4 separate regions of the Homo sapiens genome follow, and all the other regions are linked to region 3. The links are contacts of gene promoters, found by promoter capture Hi-C in blood cells and fetal thymus (Javierre and others, 2016). All regions are on one chromosome and are shown on one strand. Each heading gives the region's core, a stretch centred on a gene start or on the middle of the fragment in contact. The rest is flanking DNA. Distances are from core to core; before and after follow the strand shown. Region 1 overlaps AKT1 (AKT serine/threonine kinase 1). Region 2 holds the start of AKT1 (AKT serine/threonine kinase 1). Region 3 holds the start of PACS2 (phosphofurin acidic cluster sorting protein 2). Region 4 overlaps SIVA1 (SIVA1 apoptosis inducing factor).

The links. Contacts are between HindIII fragments. The CHiCAGO score rates a contact against its expected background, and 5 or more counts as called.
Region 1: a fragment that was not itself captured here is called in contact with the fragment with the promoter of PACS2 in region 3 in 1 of 17 cell types (monocytes); the score reaches 5.5 in monocytes.
Region 2: a contact is called between the fragment with the promoter of AKT1 here and the fragment with the promoter of PACS2 in region 3, in 2 of 17 cell types (neutrophils and monocytes). The highest score is 6.5, in neutrophils.
Region 4: a fragment that was not itself captured here is called in contact with the fragment with the promoter of PACS2 in region 3 in 4 of 17 cell types (neutrophils, fetal thymus, monocytes and 1 more); the score reaches 8.1 in neutrophils.

Annotation. Positions count from the first base shown.
Region 1 is chr14:104,774,436-104,777,442 of GRCh38, forward strand. AKT1 (AKT serine/threonine kinase 1) reads right to left here. Exons shown (of 15, transcript NM_001382430.1): 5 at 2,224-2,335; 6 at 1,217-1,364; 7 at 641-772; 8 at 503-568. Among named protein-coding and RNA genes, the nearest start is that of AKT1, 20 kb to the right of the region's middle. The HindIII fragment of the contact is 5,609 bases long and covers 1-3,007 here.
Region 2 is chr14:104,794,424-104,797,316 of GRCh38, forward strand. It overlaps AKT1 (AKT serine/threonine kinase 1), which reads right to left and starts at 1,325. Exons shown (of 15, transcript NM_001382430.1): 1 at 1,061-1,325. RefSeq lists enhancers at 1-432, 2,474-2,893 and silencers at 697-1,016, 1,047-1,096, 1,277-1,636. The HindIII fragment of the contact is 18,918 bases long and covers 1-2,893 here.
Region 3 is chr14:105,313,356-105,316,193 of GRCh38, forward strand. PACS2 (phosphofurin acidic cluster sorting protein 2) reads left to right here and starts at 1,393. Exons shown (of 25, transcript NM_001100913.3): 1 at 1,393-1,682. The coding sequence starts at 1,564. It also overlaps a transcript of BRF1 not described here. RefSeq lists silencers at 755-844, 945-1,474, 1,615-1,704, 1,935-2,014 and an enhancer at 1,759-2,410. The HindIII fragment of the contact is 4,816 bases long and covers 1-2,838 here.
Region 4 is chr14:104,755,057-104,757,938 of GRCh38, forward strand. It overlaps SIVA1 (SIVA1 apoptosis inducing factor), which reads left to right. Exons shown (of 4, transcript NM_006427.4): 2 at 574-768; 3 at 1,548-1,704. It overlaps LOC107987209 (a long non-coding RNA gene), which reads right to left. Exons shown (of 3, transcript XR_001750915.3): 2 at 1,350-2,364. Among named protein-coding and RNA genes, the nearest start is that of SIVA1, 3.4 kb to the left of the region's middle. The HindIII fragment of the contact is 2,093 bases long and covers 239-2,331 here.

The DNA of each region.
Region 1 (3,007 bases), core at 99-2,598, 540 kb before region 3:
AGACCCACCCTCCCGCCTTCCACCACAGGCGACTGTGCTTTTAAAGCAAAGGCCCCATCTGCAGGAGAATCGTCCCCAAACACAGTGACCTGGAACTAACCAAGTGGCTGGACCCTGGCCCCCTTCACAGTAAATACCTCCTGGGCCAAGTCCCCAGAACAGGTTCTGCAGGACAGAGCCCGGGCCTCAACAAAAGCCTGGCAGGCAGGGCTGCAGGGCATGGGGAGCTGGGGCCTCCTGGAGCCTCGGCAGAGTGCAAGGAAGACCAGGGCCACCTGCCCCACCCACCTGCCCGCACACGGGAGCAGCGAGCACAGCCCCTAGCCCACACTGGGCACCTCCACAGCCTGACCCTCCAGGGCAGGCCTGTCTCACCAGCGGCGGAGTCCACGGTGTGTAAAGCCCTCACGTGCCCAAGAAGACAGGACATCGTCCCCTAGAGACAGCCCCAGGAGTCGCTACCTGGCCCCAGCCCTTCAGCCCCATCTGGGCTCCCACTCACTGTGAGGAAGGGGTGCCTGGAGTTCTGCAGGACGCGGTTCTCGGTGAGTGTGTGGGCCACCTCGTCCTGTAAAGCAGGGCTGGGTGAGCTGCCACCCCGCACCCTCATCTCCACCCTGCCCCACCGCCCCGGCCCCACCTTGGCCACGATGACTTCCTTCTTGAGGATCTTCATGGCGTAGTAGCGGCCTGTGGCCTTCTCCTTCACCAGGATCACCTTGCCGAAAGTGCCCTTGCCCAGCAGCTTCAGGTACTCAAACTCGTTCATGGTCTATGGGCAGGCACCAGGGTCAGCAAGCGGCGCTGCCAACAGTGCCCAGCTGGTCGGCATGCGTGGGGTGGCATGAGGGGCCCCAGAGTCGGAGGCAGAGCCAGGAGAGGCGTCCACTTCACACCTGGTGGCCTACTGGGCTCAGCGGGGAGTCCAGGCTTACAGGGAACACATGGCTGCGGCCCCAGCTCAGAGCATGGGGTTCAGGGAAGGGTGGGGTAACATTGCCCAAGCCTGGCAGGGCTCAGCAACCCCAGTTTTCCTCTGACATGGGGAAGAGGACCCACCTGGGAAGCAGCTGCGCCCTACATGGAAAACCGGCCTAGGTGGAGATGCCGTGGAGTGCTGAGTGTCTCCTGGGCCGAGCTGGGACCCCATGACCCACCCAGCCCTCCACAGTCCAAGGCAGCCCCAGGCACAGGCAGAAGTGGGGACAGGCCTCACCACGCGGTGCTTGGGCTTGGCCAGGGACACCTCCATCTCTTCAGCCCCTGAGTTGTCACTGGGTGAGCCCGACCGGAAGTCCATCTCCTCCTCCTCCTGCTTCTTGAGGCCGTCAGCCACAGTCTGGATGGCGGTTGTCCACTCCTCCCTGCAGGAGGTCAGGTGAGGCTGCAGGCCTGTACCAGATCAGGAGCTCCACCCCACGTCTTTCACCCACCCGCCAGCCTCACAAGCGTGGTTCCACAGCTGTCGGGGTTCCCAGAGACAGCCCTGAGGAGGCCACCACTTGACCTGGTCTGGCCACATACACTCAGGGTCACGAAGCCCTCTTGGACGTGGGGGACACCCAGGCTTAGCCCCCCAGCAGGACTCTGTCCCCACAACCGGACTCCAACCCCCAGCAGGACTCCGCCCCCCAGCAGGACTCCGCCCCCCCCAAGCAGGACTCCGCCTCCCAAGCAGGACTCCGCCCCCCAAGGAGGACTGGCCCTCTCCACCGGGTTTTTCTTTTTTTGAGACGGAGTCTTGCTCTATCGCCCTGGCTGGAGTGCAGTGGTAAAATCTCGGCTCCTGCAGCCTCTGCCTCTCGGGTTCAAGCGATTCTTGTGCCTCAGCCTCCCAAGTAGCCGGGATTACAGGTGTGCACCACCACACCCAGCTAAGTTTTATATTTTTAGTAGAGACGGGGGTTTCACCATGTTGGCAGGCTAGTCTCAAACTCCTGGTCTCAAGTGATCTGCGCACCTCGGCCTCCCAAAGTGCCGAGATTATAGACGTGAGCCACTGCACCCGGTCCCTAGCCAGTTTTTATCTCCAGCCTCAGTTTCCCCACCCAAACCCCACAGGCAGGACTGGGCCAGTTTCCAAACTGGGCTCTGAGGAGGGCCTGGGAGCACTGGGGAGTGAGGATGGCTACAGGCAGAGGTGCCAGCACCCCGCCATCCCCGTGTCCCTCCTAAGCGCTGGGGCTGCCCAAGTGCCTGGCCTGGCCGCCACAGCCCACGTACCGCTCCTCAGGAGTCTCCACATGGAAGGTGCGTTCGATGACAGTGGTCCACTGCAGGCAGCGGATGATGAAGGTGTTGGGCCGGGGCCGCTCCGTCTTCATCAGCTGGCACTCTGCGGGCAGGCAGAGCCTCTGTCTGCGTGCATCCCCCTGCCCCTCCCAGGGCCCTCACCACAGCCCCCGCTGCACCAGCCAGCTCCCCTTGCATACCACCCACCAGGTCCTGGGAAGCCCCATCTCTTCCTCTCTCCAAGCCTCAGTTTCTCGCCTCACAGAGTGGGGCTAGGACCCCTGTTCCAGCTCAGACACTCTACTCCAGGCTGAGGCAGCCACACAGGGCATCTGGCCCGGCGTCAGGTCAAACCCCCACCATCGTCCACTCCTACAGTCCTTCCTTCAGTCTCTGAGCCCCGCCGTGCGCCAGGCCTCAGAGGATGAGGGGTATGGAGATCCCACAGAGGGGCTGGCATGAGGGGGGCACCCCAGAAACCTGCTTGTCCCACCTAGTGTAGAAATGTCCTGCTTTTTTCCCAACCTCACCCTGAGTACCTGGGAAATACAGCCACCTGGAGCACACCCACACCTGGGGCACACCCACACCTGGGGCACAGGCACACCTGGGGCACAGCCACACCTGGGGCACAGGCACACCTGGGGCACAGCCACACCTGGGGCACACATACATCTGGGGCACACACACACTGGAGGCAAAGCCACACCTGGGGCACACGCACACCTGAGGCACACACCTGGGGCACACGCACACCTGGGACACAGCCACACTG
Region 2 (2,893 bases), core at 75-2,574, 520 kb before region 3:
ACGTATACACCAGGCCAGCACAGGGCTGCCTGTGGGGGCGGAGGGACCCCGACTTCCCACAGCCTCCGTACCTGCCGCCTGCCTTTACCATAAGCACATATTCTTGCTACTATTATTAAGTCACAACTTAAAAAAAAATACTCTGTTTTCGAAAGGGCTCCTCCATCTGCCTCCAGAACCCTGGTGTATGAGAAGTCTACACAGCTCCCGGGAGAGGCAACCGGACCCCCACCAACGGACTCCGTCCGCCCTTCGCTCGGATGAGGGACTCAAAGCAGTCAAGAAGTGGCCACCTGGAGCAAGGCCGAGAGACCCAGGAGTGAATGTGGGGCGGCCTCTGGCTGCAGAGCAGGGGCCCAAGCTCACCCGCTGACCAAGGCAGCACTCAGAGGCCGTCCCGACAGGACCAAGCTCGCTAGCGCCCCAGGATACTCAATCTAAGGGGCAAGCCCCAGCTGCCCTCCAAGCCTTGGCCTCTGGGATGGGCGGGCAGGACCTCCAGGGCCCACCCAAGACAGGAAGCAGTTCCGGGGCCCAGGAGGGTCACAGTCCTTTGTGGCTAGCCTGGGTACCCCGCCACCACGTACAACTTTTCGTCCGTGGGAAACGAAGTCTCCTTCCGGGGCCCTCCCACAAACTTGAAGGCCGGCCGCGGCGAGTCTTTCTCCAACCCCGGGGCACCTCCGCCGGCTGCCTCGCTGGCCCAGCGCCCGGGGAGCCCCACGGCCCGCAGGGGCACCCCGAGCCCCAGCTCCAGGCCCGGCGGCGTCCCTTCTCTCGGGTCCCGGCCTCGCCCGGCGGAGCGGCCTCCCCAAGGTCATGAGGGAGGCTGGGGCCGGCAGCCTGCACCCCCGGCGCCCGGCGTGGGGCCGCCCTCCCTTGGCCGGGCCCGCGCGCCCCGCGCCCTCCCCGCCCAGGCCCGCTCGGCCACTTCCTGCTCCCGCTCCTCCATTCTGGCGGCGCCGCGGCTCGCGCCCCGGCCCGACCGGCCGCGAACAAAGCGGCCCGGCCCGCGGGGAGGAAATCCAGGCCCGGGCGGCCACGGCGGGCGGGGACTCACCGGGCCGCCGCGTCCGGGCGCGAGCGCGGGCCTAGCCGGGCCGCGGCCTCCGGCGCCCGCCGCTCCGCATCCCCGCGGGCCGGCGCTGGGCGGGGCCGGGCTGGAGGCCGCGGCGGGCGGGGGCGCTGCTCGGGGCCGGGCCTCGCGTGCCGCCGCCGCTCGGTGCCCGGTGCCCAGCGCTCGGTGCTCGGCCGCCTGCTCCCGTCTTCGGGCCGCGCTGCGTGCGCTGGGCCAGCCGCCTGCCGCGCTCGGTCCTGCCGCCGCCGCCGGCCCGCCCTCTCCCCGCCCCGCGCCCGCCCCGCGCCCGGAGCCGCCCGCCCACATCCGCCTCCGCCGCCCGGGGCGTCCCCACCGCGCGGCCGGCGGCGAGGGCGGAGCGCGCTCGGGGAGCGCGCGGCCGGGCTGAGGGGCAGCTCCCGACGACCTGGGGCCTGGGCTGGGCCGCTAACGGAGCCCGGCCACCAGCCAGCCCGTCCCGGGGCCACGCCCTCTCTGGCCTCAGTTTCCCCGTCTGTAAAGTGACCCGGCGCTTCTGGGCTCGCTCTGCCGTGACCCTAGCAGAAGGGGCCCGAGACAGGTCAGGGACGAATCCCGGACTTCTGCCTCCGCGCGCGGGGCGGGGGTGGCTTAGGTTGACTTTCAGGCTGCCCCACTCTGGGGGGCGTGGAGGGGGCGGCCAAGAGTGACCTAAAAGGCCCAATCCCAAGACCTTGTGCCTCTGGGGGAAGTGCGGGAGGATGCCAGGACAGGAGGTCAGTTGGAGGTGGGCCTCCAAGGAGCAGGAAGGCTCCGAGGGGAGTCAACCATTCACCTAGGTACTGGCAGCTACACTCACAAAAGGGGGACTTTGCTGGGGAGTGGGAGAAGAGGGGCACACCTTGCCTGGCTCCCACCTTGAGCTGGGAGCAGACACCAGACAGAGGAGGAGCGGTGTCTAGGGTGGGCTGTGACAGCTGACAGCCCAGAGCCCTCCCTGCTGGGTGGACTTGGTCAGCCCGGACACCCAGTCCGAAGTCCACTGGGAGGCAGATGGCCCGGGTATGGAATGAGTAAGTGGGACACAGACCCCTTTCTCCTGGACACTCACAGGAGAGTGCAGGTGACTGCCACCCCGACCCCTTCCTAGCCAGAAGTTCCTCCGACAACTGCCCCTCCCCCATTCCAGAGGCCCACAGTTGATAATAACCCTTTTGTGAAAGACAGACTCTTGTGAGTTACCTTCCTGAGGCTGCTAAGTATTGGGGTTGGGGGAGCATTTTTATTTTCAGCCAGAGTGAGTTCAGCTGGCAGCAGGGGAGGGGGTGGGAGGAGATGCAGACAGAGGCAGCAGGTTCGGCCCAGTGCTCAGGACAGAGTCTGCAGCCAAAACTCGGGCTTCATCCCTGCCTCTTGGGGCTGACCAAGAGAAGGACTCTCTCCCCCTGCATGAGGGCACTCGCTCCTCAGACAGGGGACTCCCCATTCCTGCCTCTCGCCTGAGCACCTCTGCTCCCTCCCAGCTCAGACTTTGTAACCCCAGGAAGGGCCCACCTCCAGGGGGCCAAGTCAGAGGCCCAGTGGTCTGCGCCGCTTGGGTGGGATACCTGACACAAGGGTTGCCCCCAGAGCCTGGGCGTCTGGTGTCTGTCTCTCACCCAGCAAACCTGCACCATGAGCCACCTGGGGCTCCCTCTGGGACTGTCCCACCTGCCCACTGCTCCCCGAGGAAGAGTTCCTGGTATCTGTCCACCATCCTGGGCTCTGCCATGCAAGGATGGAGGAAGGAATTCAGGGAGGAAGCAGAGGGTAAGAGGGCCATGAGACAAGGCCAGCAAGTGGCCGAGGCTTGGGGAT
Region 3 (2,838 bases), core at 143-2,642:
TCAAAGGTATGAGATCCACCGGCCCTCTGCCCGCCGAGCAGCTGGCCAAGGTCAGACAGACCCTCATGGCTCTCAGTGTACCACCTTAGAGGAGCCAGGGGCGCGTGGGAAACACAGAGTCCCTTGTTCTCTCCGAAGTGGGACCCTGACTTTAAGCAGTCGCAGCTGTTTGCAGTTCTAGATACAGGAGTTACAGCTGGAGGCTGAGCTCTCTCAACGGAGGAAGCAGCGGCATGAGGGCCTTTGCAGAAGGAGCTGACGGGGCACTGGGGTGGCAAGCCCCGTGGGCCAGGAAAGAAACCAGCTCCAGGTCAATTTGCTCGGGCTGGATTTGTTTCAGTAAAACTACTTGTAGACAAGACACAGGGCGAAGAGAAAAGCAACTGTAAACTAACTGTGAAACAAGGAAACAGAAGAGAGGCCAGAAAACCGTTTCCTAAATCTCGGCTTGGCATCTGGTGCTGGACCACAGCCGCTGCCAAACAGATGGGGGAAGCACCCTCCCTGAGCCCCAGAGCCTACACGTCGGGCCCCAGCGGCTCTAGCCATTGCCTCCTCTTTGCTTGGGTCCCCAAGTTCACTGTTAACCCCAGGGCCAGGAGCCAGCCTTGGCCCCAGACATTTGTTCTCCATTGTCCTGAGCACAACGCTGAAAAGCGGCGCTGAATAAGGATGCTGGGACGCAAAGAGGGCGCCCGGGGTCATCTGGAGCCCTGGAGGCTAAGCTCGGCAGCCTGGCGCCCCGAGTGGCTTCGAGTCCCCGCGACCGCCGCCAGGCCCGGCCACCTCCTTGCCACCTCCCTGCGTCCCGGGGAACCCACGCAGGGGGGCGCGAGGGAGGGGCTCGGGGACGGGCGGGGCCCGCACAGCCGGGCCAACCCAGCGGGGGTCGGCAGGAGACAAGGGGCGGCGAGGGCAGGGGGGCGGGGAGACTCGGGGCATGGCGGGGTGGAGGCGGGAAAGTGTCGAGGCCGGGGAATCCGCGCGTGGGGAGGTGGGCATCGCCAGGGCGACGATGAGCTTTCCTTAGGGGGCGGCGCCTGAAGCTGGCCGGGACCCGGTGGACCCCCACGACTCTCCCGGCCCTTGCCCGCGGCTCCCGGGGGGCGGGGCGGGGCGCCCCGGGCGGGGTCTGTGCGCAGGCGCGTGAGTGCGCGCTCTCGCGCACCGGCGGGCGGGGACGCCCCGTGAGGCGCCGCCGGAGGAAGCGCGCGCGCACCTCACTTCCGGCGCGCGCTGCGCCGGCGGCGATTGGACCCGAGGCGGCGAGCTGGCGCCCCGCCCAGCCAATCGGCGGCGCCGGCGCGGGTCGGAGGGCGCCGGGCGCGCGCGGGGCGGCCGGGGGCGCGCGGGGCGCGGGCGGGGCGCCGGGCGGGGCGGGGCGGAGCGGCCGCAGCTCGTCGCCGCCCGCGGGCCTGTCCGACGCCGGGGCCCGGCCCGTCCCCTCCGCCGCCCGGCAGCCATGTGACCGCGCCGCCGCCCTCCGCGCGCCCGGCCCGCCCGCCGCGCGTCCGCGGCCCGGCCGCAGCCCCAGGCCGCCGAGGGAGCGGCGGGGCCGGCGCCATGGCCGAGCGAGGCCGCCTCGGCCTCCCCGGCGCGCCCGGCGCGCTCAACACGCCCGTGCCCATGAACCTGTTCGCCACCTGGGAGGTGGACGGCTCCAGCCCCAGCTGCGTGCCCAGGTACGCGCCGCCCGCCGCGCTTTGTTCCCGCCGGGCACCTGCTGGGGGTGTCCTGGCCGCGGCCTCTGCGCGCCCCATCCCCGGCCCGGGTCCCCCAGCGGAGCCCAGGTCGCCCCCCGCGCCCCCGCCCGCCGGTTCGACGCGTGCAGCCGCCGCCCCCCCGCAGCTCCGGCAAGCGCGGCCCCAGCCCCCCAGGTCCCGAGCACCGGGGGCCGCGCTCAGCTTCCGAGGACCCGGTGCTGCTCAGACCCGGCGGGACCTTGGGGCTCCCGGGCGGCGCTCACCTGGCTCGCCGCAACCGCACCTGCACACCTGCCTCAATGCGGTGCCGGCCGGGGTGACGAGGGTGCTTCCTCTCTCGGGTACCACACGCTTCCTTTCGCGTTCGGCGACACTGTCAGACCTCGGCCTGGGAGCGACCCCCGGCGCACGGGGCGCGCAGGACTCGGTTGTATCCTCCGTCCAGCGCGCGGTGGAGATGCCCTGTCCTGCGGGGCGGGGTCGTCCTCGCGGGTACCTGGTTGGCGCTGTCTCTCATTTAGAGGCGTCGCCAAGCCAGTACTGCTATTTGCGCCTCCCAGTTGATCTTGCCATTGCGGAAGACTGGCTGTTCTGCACTTGGTAGGGGGGCGCCCGGTCGCCCAGCGGTAACGATTGGACAGGGTTTACCCTCCGGCCATAGCCCAGCCTTCCTTGGACTTGCAGCTTCCCTGAGTCTCCTGCTCAGTTTGAAACTTTTGTAATTTCTTCGTGACTTGGTAGTTCCTGCTCAGGAAGCTCCCAGGCTAAGGAGGAGAGAGACACGCTCTCCGGAAAAGTTCTGGTTCTAGAATAGACAGCAGGCGAGAAGAGGAGGCGGTTGGGGGTAGTGAGAGTTCTCCCTGGGGAGATGGGAGGGTGAGCGGACCTTCCAGGCACTGGAAGTGGCCAGTATGCCTGGAGGGGACCCCACGTGGCATTGAGTTGTTCCACCCCTAGTCAGCTGCAGGTGGGCCTCTCCGTGCTTTCCTGTGGCTCCCACAGCCTGCATCTCTGAGCGTGGTGTTGGAGTTGCAGAGCCGCTGGACAGTGGGGCTTGCCCTCCTGGAGCGCAGGGTTGGGACCTCGGGGCTTTGGTTTTGCTGAGTGGACAGGAAGGATGCCCACCCGGCACGAC
Region 4 (2,882 bases), core at 35-2,534, 560 kb before region 3:
GAACAAGAGGTCTGGAAGGTTCTGGGATGCTTGTCTTGCCAGCAACTCTGTAGCAGGTGAAGGGGGTGTGCTCTGGCCAGAGGCTGTAGGCCCAGCTCCAAGCCTCTGGCTGCTTCCTTGGCAGGGGACGAGTTTTGTGAATTAGTGCTCCACAGTGCAGAGCTCCCTCTGTGCATTCCACAGAGCCTGGTTTCCAGGTGGGGAGTGCTGGGGAAGCAGAAAAGGGAGAAAGGGGACAAGCTTAGTGAGGCGAGGCCAGCCGTGAATTGCAGAAAATGAGCCGAGTGATAGGAGAGGGAACCCTTGCATCAGACACAGGTGGGGCTGCAGGGCCAGAGCCTTCCTGGAGGAGATGACAGCTAAGCCAGGTAAGGAAAGGACGCACAAGCATTCTCAGCATAGAGGCAGAGCAGGACCCAGCTCGCCAGGGCACAACACAGGCTGGGGTTACTGGGAGACAGAGGGCACACAGGAGGACGATGGGGTTCATGTGAGGCTAGAAAGACTCAATGGCCATGCAGGGGCTTCGTTGGTACACAGTGAAGGACGTGAGAATGATTTATCTTCCCCCAGAGAAGACCAAGCGACTCCTGTTCCTCGGGGCCCAGGCCTACCTGGACCACGTGTGGGATGAAGGCTGTGCCGTCGTTCACCTGCCAGAGTCCCCAAAGCCTGGCCCTACAGGGGCCCCGAGGGCTGCACGTGGGCAGATGCTGATTGGACCAGACGGCCGCCTGATCAGGAGCCTTGGGCAGGCCTCCGAAGCTGGTGAGTGGCACCAGCAGCCCTTTGTGGCTGTGGCACTGAGGGCAGGTGGTGGCACGAGCATTTTTCTTGATTTGCAAGGTCAGGCTTTTCCTCCCTGGGTAAGCAGGACTCTGACCCAGAGCTTGGCCTTCTGGCTCAGAAGGCTCCTGTTATCAGGAGGTCTCACATTCAAGACTGGAAGTTGTTAAACAGCTTCTAAGTACTGGGCCAAAAAAGCAGCAGAGACTCCCCGGGTATCCCGTCTGCTTTCCGCCTGCAGCCCCCTCAGATAGTCCCACAAGGCTGGAAACATGCCAGTCCCATCCCTATGCAGTGTGGGGTCTCAGAGCATCACCTGTGTTGCTGGTTAGAAATGCAATCCCCGACTCTACCTCAAGTCTGGTTGGTGTGTCTAGGAGGAGCCCAGGCACCTCTTTGTTAACCAGTAAGGCAGTGGGCCACACTGAGACCCAGATGGGACACATGGAGTTCTGACAAGCAACAGGGGAAGAATGGTCCTTCCAGCACTAGCCTCCAGGTAGCAGAGGGACCTGGTAAGGGAAAGAGCACTGAACTTGGAGTCAACTACAGGCATATCTCACCTTGGATCTCTGTAGTAAAACGGGGGTCCTGTGCACTGTACCAGGCTCACGGGTTGTCAGAAGGATCCAGTGTAGGTGGGGATGGGGTAGGCAGGTCAGAGCCCTCTGCCCTCAGGTATGCATGGAGGCAGGTAGCCCGGCAGTCCCGGAAACTCCAGTCTCCTTGCAGCCTGACGGCTTGGCGTTTCTTCCTCACAGACCCATCTGGGGTAGCGTCCATTGCCTGTTCCTCATGCGTGCGAGCCGTGGATGGGAAGGCGGTCTGCGGTCAGTGTGAGCGAGCCCTGTGCGGGCAGTGTGTGCGCACCTGCTGGGGCTGCGGCTCCGTGGCCTGTACCCTGTGTGGCCTCGTGGAGTAAGTACTTCAGTCCCTGGAGCTGCTGAGATCCCATAGCCCCAGCAAGCCGTGATGGGGGACGGGTGGGTCACCCATGTGGGCCCAGAACACACACGTGTGGCCCCTGATGCAGTGCCATCTGGCATTGCCTAACGGGACATGGTGGCAATAGATGCTTGGCCCAACTTTAGTGGTTAGTAATCCTCTCTAAGGGAAAGCTGAACCTCACAGATGACCTGCTCTGTATCCGGCTCTAGTCCCTGTCTTCAGCCACTTCCTGTTCTGATCTTTGAGCACCCCCACCTCCTCCTCCTCTGGTCTTTGAGCCCCCCCTCCCCCCGTCCGAGGAGCCCCTGGTTGGTGACACAGGTGCACACCGCAGCTTCACCACAGTCATGCGTGCCGTTTGGTTGTAGACCCTCTCAGGCAGGAAGTGGAGTGTTTGTGTAGTCTCCCATTTGTGGGTGGGTTTGCTGCAGCTGGCTGGATCCCGTCCTTACTCCTAAGGTGGGGAGGGGCGTTCTCACCCTAGGGGCTACTCACCTGGTGGATGGGAGTGGACAGTGTGGAGCCTGTTTGCCCTGCCCCGTGAGAAAGATGACTTCATCCAGACACATGTGGAACTGGCTCCATAGACCCAAAGCAAGCTTAGTCCAAACAATGTCTGAAATTGTCCATCTAAAATAGAAACCACATGTTACATCTCGAGTCCTTTCTCTCGAGCCTTTCTTCAGTCGGGGCAGAGGCCCAGACTCATTGGAGACGGAGAGCCCTGGGCAGGGGGGGCAGCACCAGGGAGAAGCGCCGCGTGCCAGTGATCGGCTCCCATGGCTTCAGCATGGGCAGGAGTGGGGTAACGCACCCCATCCAGGTTGGGAATCATCTGCAGGGCTAGCTATGAATGTGGGATACTCTGTCTTTGCTTTTCACCCGCTGAGTTCATCTTCTTTCCTAGAAGTAAACTGAAAAGGGCAGGGTTTTCTCATTGTCTGGTGGCCCTCTCACCAAAGCAGAAGTGAACATAGCCATGGGCAGGTTCAGCGGAGAGGTGGGTCCCAGAGCGCTGCGTGGCTGGCCTCCCACTCCTGCCCTGCACACCATCCTTGAGGGACTCCCTTGCGCCCATTTCCTCCTGGCCTCTACCTACTTTCTGCTGCTGCTTCCTCCCATACCCACAGAGTTCACGTTGAGCTGAG